Regions from separate parts of the Homo sapiens genome. Here all the other regions are linked to region 4. The links are contacts of gene promoters, found by promoter capture Hi-C in blood cells and fetal thymus (Javierre and others, 2016). All regions are on one chromosome and are shown on one strand. Each heading gives the region's core, a stretch centred on a gene start or on the middle of the fragment in contact. The rest is flanking DNA. Distances are from core to core; before and after follow the strand shown.

Region 1 (2,700 bases), core at 2-2,501, 130 kb before region 4:
GACACAACAGAGAGACACATTATTTTCTTATCATCATTTCTTTTCTCTACTTACTTTCACTTTATATTAGATACCCAATATTGGGACAGAAGGATTAAAGAGGAATAAAAACTGCTTTTAGAGGATCCTAGGTTGGGCTGCTAGAAATGACAATGTCTTTAGAAATACTTTCAAAGGTGGGAAAGAGTGGAATATAAAACTCAGATCAATAGGGACCCCTTCATGGATAGATCTTAAATAGCAACATGGAGGGGGCACCGCTGCGGGGAAAGCTTCAAATGTTCCAATGCCAGTCCACGTACAGGCCTGGCTGCCAACCAGGCATTTTCTAAAATAGACCATTTCAGAAGTTTGGTGTCCGTAGCATTTAGCCAAGCTTACCACCCCAAACTAAAGACCTTCCAAAATTACCAATGACAGAAGTGAAACATTTAAAGTCAGGTCATATAATGGCACGTAATATGAGACCACACTTGCTAATGGCTAACATTTTTTATGTTGATTCATTGCTTAGAAGATAATTATAGTTTCCTCACGTAGGAAAATGCACCTCATAAAAACTGTCTAGTCTTGTTCTCACTTTCCTCAAAATAATTTAAGATTTCCACCCTGTCTGGCCTATTCTAATGCAACTCACCAATTATTAACATTTATCTCTAGAGCTGTGTTGCTCCACACAGTAACCAGTGGCCACATGTGGCTACTGAGAACTTGAAACGCAGCCAGGCTGGGCACAGTGGCTCATGCCTGTAATTCCAGCACTTTGGGAGGCTGAGGCAGGCGGATCACTTGAGCTCAGGAGTTCGAGACTAGCCTGGGCAACCTAGTAAAACCCCATCTCAAATACAAAAAATACAAAAAATTAGCCAGGTGTGACGGCCTGTGCCTGTAGTCCCAGCTACTTGGAGTCAAGGCTGTGGTAAGCCATGATTGTGCCACTGCACTGCAGCCTGGGTGGCAAAGTGAGACCTTGACCCTAAATAAATAAATAAACAAACAAACACAGTCAGTCTGAATTGAGATGTAAGATACACACCAGATTTCAGTAACTTAGTATAAAACTAAAAACATGAAATAAAATACCTCATTAATAATTTTTGTATTTGTGTATTGAAATAATATTTTGGATTAGGTTAAATATCTCACTGAGATTATTTTCACTGGTTTCATTTTACTTTTTTTTCTTTTTTGAGACAGAGTTTTGCTCTTGTTGCCCAGGCTGGAGTGCAATGGTGCAATCTCGGCTCACTGCAACCTCCACCTCCTGGGTTCAAGCAATTCTCCTGCCTCAGCCTCCTGAGTAGCTGGGATTACAGGCGCCCGCCACCATGCCTGGCTAATTTTTGTACTTTTAGTAGAGATGGGGTTTCACCATGTTGGCCAGGCTGGTCTCGAACTCCTGACCTCGTGATCTACCCGCCTTGGCCTCCCAAAGTGCTGGGATTACAGGTGTGAGCCACTGAGCCCGGCCTACTTTTTTTATTTTAAATTTATTCTTATTTTTATTTTTTGAAACAGGGTCTCACTCTGTCACCCAGGCTGGAGTGCAGTGGCACAATCATGGCTCACTCCTGGGTTCAAGCCATCCTCCCACCTCAGCCTCCCAAATAGCTGGGACCACGCCACCATACCAAGCTAATTTTATTTTTAATTTTTCTAGAGATGAAGTCTTTCTATGTTGCCCAGGCTGGTCTTGAACTCCTGGGCTCAAGTGATCCTCCCATCTTGGCCTCCCAAAGTGCTGAGATTATAGGTGTAAGCCACTGCCCCGGCATCATTTTACTTTTTTATACTGTTGCTACTAGAAAATAAAAAATTACATAAGTAGTTCATATATATTTTAGTCAGACAATGCTGATCTAGAAGTCTTTGATATAATTACATTATTCTTGAAGATTTAAATTTACCTCTTTATCAATCTTTGTTCAAATAATAGTGAATGCAGAGATACATACAACTCAAAGTTTGCATTTTTGTTTTTTACTCCACTTATTAATGCACAATATTGTTAAAAATTAGCAAAAATAGAGTTGGGAGGTCATCTCTGTGTAGCAGATACTGGGCTAACTGATTTTCCCTGACAAACTGAAACATCCAGATAAAAATCTGTAGGGCAAGAAAGCTTTTTCACTTGCCTTGAGTGAAAGATGTTAGCAGGTTGTATTAGCATTTGGGTAAGTTGCTGCTTTTCTTCTCATAACTTCTGTCTATTCCAAAATCCCAAGCACAGGGCCAACAATGTAAGAATTTCTGGGAATTTCTGGCCAAACCTTGCGAATGGCTTATATCAGGTATATCTTTTGACCCTAAAATAAGCTGGTTCCACCCACTTAGAGGATTGTGATCAATCTCACCTTTGGTAAACCTGGAGGTGGTGGGGGTGGAAGTATCCATAGAGGAACCTTAGAGACTTACTGAGTCGCACAATGAAAAGCACTGGTTAGCCTAAAAGCCAACCAAATAAAATATTCTTTTTTTTTTTGTGCCATCCTTAATAAAAGGAAAAGATGCCTAGACAGCTTCTATGTAGCTAGACTTTCATACTTTTTACTTCATGACAAATCCCTCTAATTTTTTCTGGGTGAAAACATTGGAATTCCATGGCTTTTCCTTCTTTGCTCTTCCAACTTCCATTATTTTAATTGCTCTCTTTTGGAATATCACTGCCAGAATCAAAAGCAATGCTTCTTGGCTCTGGTT
Region 2 (2,769 bases), core at 239-2,738, 180 kb before region 4:
TTGTGTGACTGTACCATAATTGATTCAATGAATCTCACACTGTTGGATAAAATTCTACATATGGAATTGATGGGTCAAAGAACATTCTCAGTGTAAATGTTAACACATTTCTAAATTGCACTCCACATGAGTTATACTAATATACACCTTACTATGCTAAGTATTTATTTTAATGAGTCATATGCTATATATTTAATAAAAAGTGAAGTAGTTCTACAGGAATTATGATAAAAACAAGCAGTTTCTGGTTTTCAGATTCTCATTCTCGATGGGCACTGCCCAGAAGCATTTTTGATTCTTTAGGCTATTTCTGCTCTAAGAAGGTCCATGCTTCTAACCATGCTGATAATGTGTTTTCATTATTTTTCAACTTTAGGTATTATTTACTCTCAGTTTCCTCAAACTTACCCTTCTGTCTTCTCAACTAGTTCTAAGATGTCTCTCTCTCTCTTTTTTTTTTTTTTAATTTTAGAGACAGGGTCTCACTCTGTCAACCAGGCAGGTCTTCCTGGGCTCAAGTGATCTTTCTGAAGCGCTGGGTAGTGTGAGCAACCGTGGCCAGCCTTCTTAACTAGTTCTGTTATGTAATTTGATTCGATTAAATGTCAGAATTTACATCTTTAAGACTATGTAAGTATTATGCCCTGTTAGCCTCAGAGTATACTATGATTTCATTTCCTTTCTTAGAGAATCATGTTTTCCCTGGAGTTAAAATTGTTTCTCTTTTTTTTTCTTTTTTCAAGATAAAGACCATTAATTTATTAGCAAATTGTATGCCAGAAGTATCAATCTTGTCTCACTGTGTTCAAATATCAGATATTCTATGCTTTGCATTTCTTTCTTGGTGACCTCTGCTCCAACCTGGACAGGCTGCTGTCCAGGCCTGCTGGTTGTTTCTTCAACACCATCCTAATGATAGCCTTTGCTGGTCTTCTGTATTGCTATTTCCAATGTATTCCTTCCTTTGGGAGATTACAAAATCGAGCAATAGTTTCTGAGTAAGAGTAACAGAAGGTATGCTTTCTGAGACTCTTCCTGTTTCAAAAATGTTCTCCCTTCGCACTTGGCTAATGATGTCAGTAGATATAAAAGTCTTGGTTGGAAGTAATTTTCTCTGAGTACTCAGGGAGCTATTTGTCTACCTGTGATTTATAGATTCCAATGCTGCTATTGAGATTCCAGTATCATTCTGATGACCCCCAGCCCATTCTGAAAGCTTTTAAAGTTTTCTCTTAGTTGACATAATTACAAAATTTTGTGATAGTAGGCTTTGGGTGGGTCTTTTTCATGCACTGAGCAAATGTACAAATTTGGGAAATGATCTGGATAGCAGTTCTCCAAGTGTGGTCTAACGACCTCTGGGGTTCCTGAGACAAGACCCCTTCAGGAGGTCCACAAGGTTGGACCTCATAAAAATACTGAGACATTATGAAATTCTTAAACTTTCATTCTCTCATGAGAGTACAGTGAACTTTTCCAGAGGCTACATGACGTGTGATATCACAACAGATGGAAAGTTGAAGCAGATATGAGAATTCAGCTGTCTTCTAGTAAGTCAGGCAGTAACAAGATCTGTAAAAATGTAAAACAGCTCCAAAACAAACAAAAAAATTTAGTAGAAAAAGTAGTAAAATTATTTTTCTAGAAATATGTGGGCTTGTTCTTTTTTAGTATTAAATAAATAGACATCTTAACAGGTTCTCGGTTTTCATTTCTAATGTGGCAAACAAAACATAATAAAACATAAACAAAAAAGCTTTTTCAGTCCTTAGTAATTTTTAAGCATGTAAGAGATCCTGGACCAAAACACTTGAGAATCTCTGCTCCTGGCTGGATGTGGTGGCTCATGCCTATAATCCCAGCACTCTGGGAGGCCAAGGTGGGCAGATGACCTGAGGTCAGGAGTTCGGGACCAGCACGGCCAACACAGTGAAACCCCATCTCTACCAAAAATTCAAAAATTAGCTGGGTGTGGTGGCACACACCTGCAGTCCCAGCTACTCAGGAGGCTGAGGCAGGAGAATCACTTGAGCCTGGGAGGCAGAGATTGCAGTGAGCCGAGATTGCACCATTGCACTCCAGCCTGGGTGACAAAAGTGAGACTCCGTTAAAAAAAAAAAAAAAAGAAGAATCTCTGCTCGTGAATTATGTCTTTGATATTTCCTCCCTTGCAGTTTTAAAGTTCCTATTACTCACATATTGGATCTCCTGGTCTAATACGCTAATTTTCCTTACTCTTCCTCTTCTACTCTCTATCTTCCTGTTTTCATTCCTCCATTTTTTGTGGGGGGAGACCTCCCCTTTATTTCCCTTTTTTTTTTTTTTTTTAGTTTTTTTTCCCCATTTCTTTTATTGATTTTTTTGTTTTGTTTCAACCATCAGATTTTCAATTTCAAAGTTTTTTTTTAAACATGTGTTTTGGATGTTTCTTGCTTATGCTTTTGTTCTTATTTCATGCGTGCAAAATCTTCCCTTATTTCCAAACTCGCCATGATGATGATCATAATGATTTTGTACTTTTCTTTCCTGTTCTTTGTTTTCTGCTGAGCTCCCTTTTTGATGATTTTAGCTTCTGTCATTCATGTTAGATGCTCTTCTCAAATTCTGAGTATCTTCATTTGTCCTTTCATATTTGAAAATGAGCCACAACGTCAATCATGAACTCTTCGCAGGGATGGAGTTTATTGTGTGGTGTTCCTCATTCCAAGGCAGTGGTTCTGAAACTTTTGGCATCAGGACCTGTTTATACTCTTAAAAAATTTAGTGAGA
Region 3 (2,705 bases), core at 124-2,623, 170 kb after region 4:
AAAGTAAGTAAAGGCATAAATACATAAATAGTGCCAAAAAGGAGCTGAGAGCCTCAAATCATAGAAGACTATTAGTCGGGGTTGCGGGGGATTGCCCTCAGAAATCATCCAGCCGAGCCCCCATATTCTGCAGGAGAGAAACCAAGGGCCAGGGCAGGAAGCCCTGAGCTCAGCCCTCCTTTGCCCCATGATCTGTCTTCCGCAGAAGGCAGCATCTGGCAGAGAAAAATGAGAAACCTGCCCAGAGAGATCTTGTGTAAAACCCCCTGATTGTCATCTTTCCTTCTTTAATTTTTTTTTCAGTTGTGAAAGATACATATTCTGAAGAACGTATATGGCAGGTATGAGTAGTTCCCCCCTCCTGCTTCTGGTTCTACATTTTTACTGGGAAAATAAAATCCTCAGCTGGGTGCGGTGGCTCACACCTGTAATTCCAGCACTTTGGAAAGCCGAGGCAGGCGGATCACCTGAGGTCAGGAATTTGAGACCAGTCCGGCCTACATGGCGAAACCCCCATCACTAATAAAAGTACAAAAAATTAGCCGGGCGTGATGGCATGTGCCTGTAATCCCAGGCACTCGGGAGGCTGAGGCAGGAGAATCGCTTGAACCTGGGGGGTGGAGGTTGCAGTGAGCTGAAATCACGCCACTTCACTCCAGCCTGGGAAAAACAGCGAGACATCGTTAAAAAAAAAATTCCTCCAGGCTGCAAAGAATGAGGCTTTTGAATTTCTAGGCTAGGAAGTGCGTGCTGGTGAAATGAGACCCTTCATGACATCATGCAAATATTAATGCCGACCCACCCGGCTGGCCTGTGTAGAACCACCACCTCCCAGCTTGGGCTGGCTTCTGGCCACTCACAGCACTGCTGGCAGTTCCTTTGCAGGTGGGGATGAGGCCCAGGGCTAGCTTGGCCCACCCAAGCCCAATGCCCCCTTGCAGCCAGCTCAGCAACTAACTGGCAGGGGCCTTCTTGTCATTGCTGTCGCTGCAGCATCTTCCTGCAAGAAATTCCACAAGGTTACATCCTGCAGGCATGTCTGCTAACTCTACACAGCCTAATCCAAACATTTAAAGGTGCCATGTGCATGTAAACTGATCATTCAATTCATTGGGGAAAAAAAAATTTTAAACCCTAGATCCTGACTGTCAGTCCGCATAGTAGAAGCCCTTTTATCCAAACATTATTGACTAAGGGATCATTATTGATTAGCTGGTCATCTAATTAGAAAATAATTCAAATGAGCGGATGGTATAATCCTAATGGCATGACAGAAGTGACCCTTTCATTGATTCTTAACAAGCTCCATGGTTCTTATTGGCAAAATGGAGTAGTTATCCAAATGGGTGGGGTGCCCACACAGCTTCCTTTTCTTCCCTGGGGTTGGCACAGATGCCAACCTTCTTGCCCAGTGCTCTTGAGTCCCAGAGCAGTTCGAGGCTCCTGTCTCTCAAACCCACTTGCTCCTTCTCTGTGGCTAAACTTTCCCTTAGAATCCACCTATGACCCAGCCTCGATGGATCAACTCCCCCCTTTCACTCCTAGGCCCATTTCCACTCCTAGGCCCAGCAGCCAGGCCAAAGCCCAGACCTGAGTTCACTGGCCTGGGGTGGGGCAGACAATTCACTCCTCACGTGCTAGACTTAGGGAAGCACTATTTTGCCCCCAGATAATCAGCCTGGCCTCCCAGGCTCAAGGTTGGCCCATGGCCTGGTCCTGCTGCTCCCCTAGATGCCCTCCAGGGGTGGAGATGCAAGGGATGAGACCTGTGATCGGAGCAGTAGAATAGGTCTTTTTGGCAAGCAGAGCTCTAACAACTAGAGGAACTGTGTCTGGGCATCAGAACCCACCAGAACCACACGCGCCAGCTCACCGCGGGCAACTTCTGCAGCTTCTACCACACTGAGATGGGCAACACGGCCTAAGGCCTTCCTGTACTTCCTCCCCACTGGTGGGCTTATATCAGCCACATTCATGGCCAAGTTGGCGAGGATGAGCTGGGAGGGAAGTGTTGCCTCTGGTGGGGAGTCCAATCCTGAGCGGGGGACACACTGTCCTCCTGGCTGCACTGTCATCAATCTGGATCATTCTCGTTTCTTCCTCTGCCATGTGACAGTGTGCTAGATGGGGGTGGAGCACCTGCTGTCACATCTGTCTTTGAGCATGACCATCTGAATTACTTTGGCCAATGGGATGTTAGCAGGCACAACATGACCAGAGGCTTGACTTACACGTGCTTGTGGGGATTGACTTGTCCTCTTGCACATTGCAGGGTCTGCTCTTTCTCTTCATCTTAGGCTACCTCTCTGTTGCAATAGCCTGGCCTAGGAGTCGAGGTAGGTGTGGGAATGTTTGCCCACTTAGGGCCTCAGCTTATTTTCTAGTTGGCTGCCGCTGGACCCTCCCTCTCCAGCTTCTACCCCCTCTAAGAGTAGAGCTCCTTGGAGTTGTTTCTCTTTGTGGAGTGACTCCTCTGTAGCTTCCTTCCCCATTTCCAGGGCTGCTGCTTCCTTTTTAAGTCTGATCCCACATCCATGTTGACTTTCAGAATGTGAAAGGTTTGCCTTATCTACTGAACTTTTGTCTTGTAGCTAAAATCACACTGTTTGCCCCTCCTACTCGCCTGTCAAATAACTTCAGTGAGACAGTATTCCACAGAAGCACCTAAGCAGACCAAACTTTTGAGGGTCATAGCAGACAGTAGT
Region 4 (2,700 bases), core at 176-2,675:
CTGAAATGATGGGCTTGGAAATGTTTTTAACAGCAATTTAATCAAAATCCAAAATCTCTACATTTTTTAGAAGTATGCTGTCTACAGAATCTGAGAATCCAGAAGATGCCGGTTTTAACACCTGGTTGTTATTGTACCGCATTACAGGACCTACCCAAGCCCGGAATTCTGTTAGATGACAAACTGGACCCTAGAGTTAACATTCTAGTCTTTCCCCCGGTCTAAATACAAAACACAATATAGTTCTGTATCCAATCTGTTCAAAACTCCTAAACCAACTCTCAGTCTGAGATGGTCCTCGCGGGGTGATACCTGCCCCAAACACCCACACTCGGTGATTTCGAAAATACGTGCAGTAGCCTCGGCCACCTGCGGGTGGTACAAAGGGCGCCTTGAGGACCAGAGCTGGATGAAACGCCGGCTTACAAACCCCGCTCCGCCAGCACATTCAAGTCAAGGATCCAGCTCATTGTTTCCGAGGAGCGGAATGAATTGACCAGCCGAGCGCCGTTCTCCCAGTTAGAGCGTTCCCAAGCTTCCGGCTTCGGAACGGGGCTCACCGCGAGGACACAAAAGGGGCGAGCTCGGGCATCACTGCGGTTCCCCGCCGCCCGCCGAGGCCAGAACGCTCGCAGAGTCGCGGCCGCCCAGGTGTTACCGTTTACCCCGTGACGGAAGAGCCACAGGCTCTTGACTCCCCACCCCCTGAAAAGCGCATCTGCAGAACGGGGGCGCCCCCAAGCCCTGAGCGCCGCAGCAGCTCGGCCGCCGCCCCCACCGCGCGTCCCCGGGTCCTCGGGCTCCCGGCTTCGCTGCTGGGGAGCTGACCCAGCTGACTGGCTGTGGGGTCCCGTTCTGGGGCTGTCCTGCTGAGTCGGGGGTGGGGAAGCGGTGGCTACAACTCCCGGGTGCTCGCAGAAACTCCTCTGCGCGCTGATGTTGCAGCCGCTGGGGCGAGGGGCGGGAGCACCGGGAACTTGGGGGCGCGGAACCCCAAGCGGGGCGGCGGCGGGCAGCATCCCCGACCCGACTCCGACCCCCGAGACGCGGCGCCCCCCAGCGCCCTCCGTCCCCACCGCGCGGTGCCCCCGGCGCCCTCTGTCCCCACCGCTCGGCGCCCCCCAAGGCCCTCCGTCCCCACTGCGGAGGGGCGCGCAGGGGGCCGGCGGGGCCCGGGTACCACGCTCCGCCCGGCCCCACCTGCGGATGTGGGGCTCCCGCCGGAGGTCCCCGGGTCCCCCCTCCCATCCCTGGAAAAGTCCCCAGGGCGTCCGGGCCCGACCGGCGCTTACCCGGGGAGGGACGGCTTCGCATGCCCGGGCGGCGCTCGCAGGTCGGGCGGGGAGGGTGCGGGCTGCGCTGCGCCGGCTCGGGCTGCCGGAGCGCCCTGCAGCCGCCGTCGGGCTCGGGCTCGGGCTCAGGCTCGGGCTCCGACTTCCTCTTCCTCGGGCTCGGCCCCACTGCTCGGCCGCGCCCCGGCCCGCCCCTCCCCGCGCCCAGACGCCAGCTTCGGCGGCCGGAGCAGTGGATCGCTCGTCCCGCCTCCCCTCTGCCCTGAGGGTGAAAAAGGTGGAGAGGAGGGGGGCGAAGAGAAAGAGAAATTAGGCACTTGGCCTTGTCTCTGGAGCCTTGCCAAAGAGAACAGTCAAATTACAGCTTCGGGGGGAATAAAGTTTTTTTTTTTTTTAATTCTGCTACTGTTTTCGCAGACACATCACTTTTTTTCATTTTCCTAGCTCTTCAGGTTTAGCTTTCCTTTGGACGTAATAATTTCCTATGTGAGTCCTTTAAAATAATACCCAAAATCATGGTTTTAGTGAACATTCTAGTTTTACATAGAAGCTTTGCCGGTAATCAAGTGAAAAGAGGGGGAAGCCCGGTGTTCTTCAGGCGTCATTACCCTAATCACCTCGGTTAAAGCACCAAACGACCTTTGCCTAGAGAAAGTAAAAGTGGAAACGGAGGTAAAGAATAACCGGTGACAGCCAGAGAGATGTTTAAAGGCACCGGCTCTGCAGTAAAGTTATGACTCCAATCAAAGGTGCCTGCAGCGACAGTTAAAGGCATGTGAAGTCATTTCTTAACACTAATCTCCCGCCAAAGTCGGACGTATCAGGGTCGCCTGTGGACCCCCTTAGGTTTGGTGGTGGATTTGATTGCACTCTTAGTTGTTAACAGACCTTCAGCCTTACCACTTGCTAGCTGTGTGGCCTTGAGAGAACGCTTTAACCTCTCTGTGTTCTGTCTGTTTCCTCATCTGTAAAATGGAGATGATGATGATGATGATGATGATAGTGCCTACCTCATAGAGTTGCTGTATGTGATTTAAATAAGAGAATGTGCGTGAAGGGCTTAGGAGACTGTCTGGCACATGCTCTACAGCCTGAATAAATGTTAGCTATTCTTGTTGATTTTTGCCTTTTATCTGCTTTTATGCATATACATGATTATGGAAATTATCATAAAGACTGGGAACAAAACAAGGTTTGTGCAGTAAGGCTACACAGCATCACAGTTCTCTACCACGTGGAGTTTATGTTCTGTTTTATAATTTGAGTCTCCACAACTGACTTGTATTACCTAAAACTATGGGACTGGGTTATGCTTGGAATACATTTACCACGGTAGATTTGCAATGGGACTAAAACAGACATTTGCCATCTTCAAAGCATTGTTTCAGTTGGCCTTGCGATAACCTTG
Region 5 (2,856 bases), core at 312-2,811, 160 kb before region 4:
CTAGGAAGGGGCAGGAGGTGGCAGCTCTTCCCAGAAAAAGAAACTTGGAACAGGAATTCTGTTAAAAATAGAAATGATGAGTAGAAAGAGAAATACATCTTTGCTTGAAGACAATTAGGAATATTTGTTTGGTTTTCCCTTAAAGACTTTAAGCAAAAACACATCTATGAACAAGAAATTAAGAAATAGAATTAGTATTAATATGTTAAAGTTCTTAAAGCAACAGGACGCCCATCTTTTCCTACACTTCTGACAATCATTACCGAAATCAATTGTCTTAGGCCAGGTGTGGTGGCTCACCCCTGCATCCCAGCACTTTGGGAGGCCGAGACAGGTGGATCACCTGAGGTCAGGAGTTCGAGACCAGCCTGAAACCCCGTCTCTACAAAAATACAAAAATTAGCTGGGTGTGGTGGCACAGGCCTGTAATATCAGCTACTCGAGAGGCTGAGGCAGGACAATCGCTTGAACCTGGGAGGTGGAGGTTGTAGTGAGCCGAGATCGCACCACTGCACTCCAGCCTGGGTGGATCACAAGGTCAAGTAATCGAGACCATCCTGGCTGACACGGTGAAACCTCGTCTCTACTAAACATACAAAAATTTGCTGGGCATGGTGGCGCATCCCTGTAGTCCCAGCTACTTGGGAGGCCGAGGCAGGAGAATCGCTTGAACCCAGGAGGTGGAGGTTGCAGTGAGCCATGATTGTGCCACTGCACTCCAGCCTGGGCAATAGAGTGAGACTTTGTCTCAAAAAAAAAAAAAAAAAAAAAAAAGAAAAAAAGAAAGAAATCAATTGTTTTCATTTACTTCACAGTGATGTCATTTATTGACTTCATGTGGATGTGTATAAATGTACTGAAACCTAAAAAAGTTATAATAATGGAAAAGCAGTTTGGTATAAACATAACACTAAAATCAGTTCCTTATATTACCTTTCGGTATAACAATTAGAAAAGTCCTTATAAGAGGCCTTTTTACAATAATAACGTAGCAGAAAAACTTAATTTTGTTGCCTTGTTAAATATTTATTTTCGAAATTGCAGTTTCCAAATTACATTGACAACGTTCTCATATGCCAAAGTGCTTCTAAAACTGACAGAGGTAGACAGTTGGCCATGATGAAGTCCTGTTGCATACTGAAATATCTTTCCAGACCTATTTGCAACCTCCCATTACTGTTTTTTCTATAGTGTAAATCCTATCATTATTTCTAGCTACCAAAAAAAAAAAAAAAAAAGCAAAGCATTTCTGAAATAATCTATGTGCTGTTGAATGCATGTAAATACAAAGTCTTCGAAGACTATGTATTTTAAAGTCTTCAAAACGGGCCACCACCGTGTTTACCAGAATCCCCTGGAGTAAAGCTCAGTATGAGGCTGCTGTGGGCATTCACTAGATAGAAATTTGAAGCAAGTTTATTAACCACTCCTTTGAGAATGATCCCTCCAGTTGACTTCCTTTCCTACAACTTTGTCTTCCTTGTCATCAGGTTAACTTTACACGCTTTTTATTTCTTTTTTAAACTACCTTTTTACTCTCCAGGTCCCAGGCCAGGTAAGGAAGCAGACAGACACAATTAAATGTGGCTATAATCCTTAAAGTGGAAAATGGGAATGGCTGGTGAGGTGGTGGAGGAATGCAATGTCTTGGCAACACTTGACGCATCTGAAAATAAGAAACTGATTCATCTTCATTATAATCAGAGGACTACTGGTGTAATTTGAAACATGGTGATTAAGGAAAATTAAGTAAAGCCCAAAGGGTTTTTAATATGGGGAAAAAAATCAGTAAAATAAATGTACATTATTACATAATCTGAATTTTAACTCCTCACTGCTATTTATCATCATTATTGGTTTCTCTTTTTTCTTTATTTTTGTTTAGAGACTGGCTCTGTCATCCAGGTGAGAATGCAGTGGCTTGATCACAGCTCACTGCAACCTGGAAATCCTGCCTTAAGCAATCTCCCGCCTCAGCCTTCCCAGTAGCTGGGGTTATAGGCTCACACCACCACACTGGGCTAACTTTTCTATTTTTTTGTAAAGATAGGGTCTCACTATGTTGCCCAGGAGACTCCTGACCTCAAGTGATCCTCCCACCTCAGCCTCCCAAAGTGCTGGGCTTATAGGCATAAGCTACCACACCCGGCAATCATCATTGTTGTTATTTTAAAGTTTATTGCTAAGCACTGAGCTGTCTGCTTTATATGCATTCTCTCATTTCATCTTCACCGCAACCCTAGGAGACGGGTCCCACTCATCCCATTTTCCCGGAAGCTGAGAAAGGCTCCATCACTCCCCTGAGGTCACACAGAGAGTAAATGCCTCAAGCCATGCTCAAACCAGGATCTGCTGACAATAGCCTGGGCACTGAAACCCTACAGGGTCACTTCAAAGGTTTTATACCTTAACACAGTATATTTAAACAGGAGGAGGGGTTTGCTGATGATTAATTTTGAGAGTTAAAGGTAATTTTTATCAGGTGTCAGGTAGGAGCCAACCAAAAACAGCCACCCTGATTGACTAGGCACCTCCCACCTGCCAAGATCATCACAGGCTATATCTGAATTAGGATCAGTCCCATTCACATGCGGTACCCACTGCCTTCATGTTTTCATATGTATACATCCCATGGCATGTTTTCCTTCAGCCAAGCACACCAGCTTTCAACCATCTGCCACGTTCAAGACTGGCTCATGAGTTCTCGTCCTTCCTTCTCACTAATGCATGCCTTTACACTCCTTTAAGACATCCCATTTCTTGCCAGCCACCACACGGTGGGCCACTTGATCCCTCTTTATGGACAAGTCTCTATATACCTCGTCCCACAGAAACACACTCCTTCCCCAAACCAGT

Evidence for each region. The method cuts DNA at HindIII sites, captures the fragments that hold promoters and counts their contacts. A CHiCAGO score of 5 or more calls a contact.
Region 1: a contact is called between a fragment that was not itself captured here and the fragment with the promoter of PLEKHG1 in region 4, in 3 of 17 cell types (naive B cells, total B cells and fetal thymus). The highest score is 14.2, in naive B cells.
Region 2: a contact is called between a fragment that was not itself captured here and the fragment with the promoter of PLEKHG1 in region 4, in 2 of 17 cell types (total B cells and naive B cells). The highest score is 6.1, in total B cells.
Region 3: a fragment that was not itself captured here is called in contact with the fragment with the promoter of PLEKHG1 in region 4 in 3 of 17 cell types (total B cells, endothelial precursors and naive B cells); the score reaches 11.5 in total B cells.
Region 5: a fragment that was not itself captured here is called in contact with the fragment with the promoter of PLEKHG1 in region 4 in 3 of 17 cell types (total B cells, naive B cells and fetal thymus); the score reaches 14.4 in total B cells.

The regions. Positions count from the first base shown.
Region 1 is chr6:150,727,387-150,730,086 of GRCh38, reverse strand. All of the region lies in intron 2 of PLEKHG1 (pleckstrin homology and RhoGEF domain containing G1), which reads right to left. Among named protein-coding and RNA genes, the nearest start is that of PLEKHG1, 130 kb to the right of the region's middle. The HindIII fragment of the contact is 1,746 bases long and covers 379-2,124 here.
Region 2 is chr6:150,782,729-150,785,497 of GRCh38, reverse strand. The region is part of intron 4 of PLEKHG1 (pleckstrin homology and RhoGEF domain containing G1); the gene reads right to left. Among named protein-coding and RNA genes, the nearest start is that of MTHFD1L, 82 kb to the left of the region's middle. The HindIII fragment of the contact is 540 bases long and covers 1,219-1,758 here.
Region 3 is chr6:150,429,106-150,431,810 of GRCh38, reverse strand. No RefSeq gene overlaps it. Among named protein-coding and RNA genes, the nearest start is that of IYD, 61 kb to the right of the region's middle. The HindIII fragment of the contact is 3,201 bases long and covers 1-2,705 here.
Region 4 is chr6:150,598,610-150,601,309 of GRCh38, reverse strand. PLEKHG1 (pleckstrin homology and RhoGEF domain containing G1) reads right to left here and starts at 1,425. Exons shown (of 17, transcript NM_001029884.3): 1 at 1,293-1,425. RefSeq lists silencers at 748-917, 1,128-1,607, 1,403-1,697, 1,878-1,937. The HindIII fragment of the contact is 1,307 bases long and covers 538-1,844 here.
Region 5 is chr6:150,759,018-150,761,873 of GRCh38, reverse strand. All of the region lies in intron 3 of PLEKHG1 (pleckstrin homology and RhoGEF domain containing G1), which reads right to left. Among named protein-coding and RNA genes, the nearest start is that of MTHFD1L, 110 kb to the left of the region's middle. The HindIII fragment of the contact is 5,411 bases long and covers 1-2,856 here.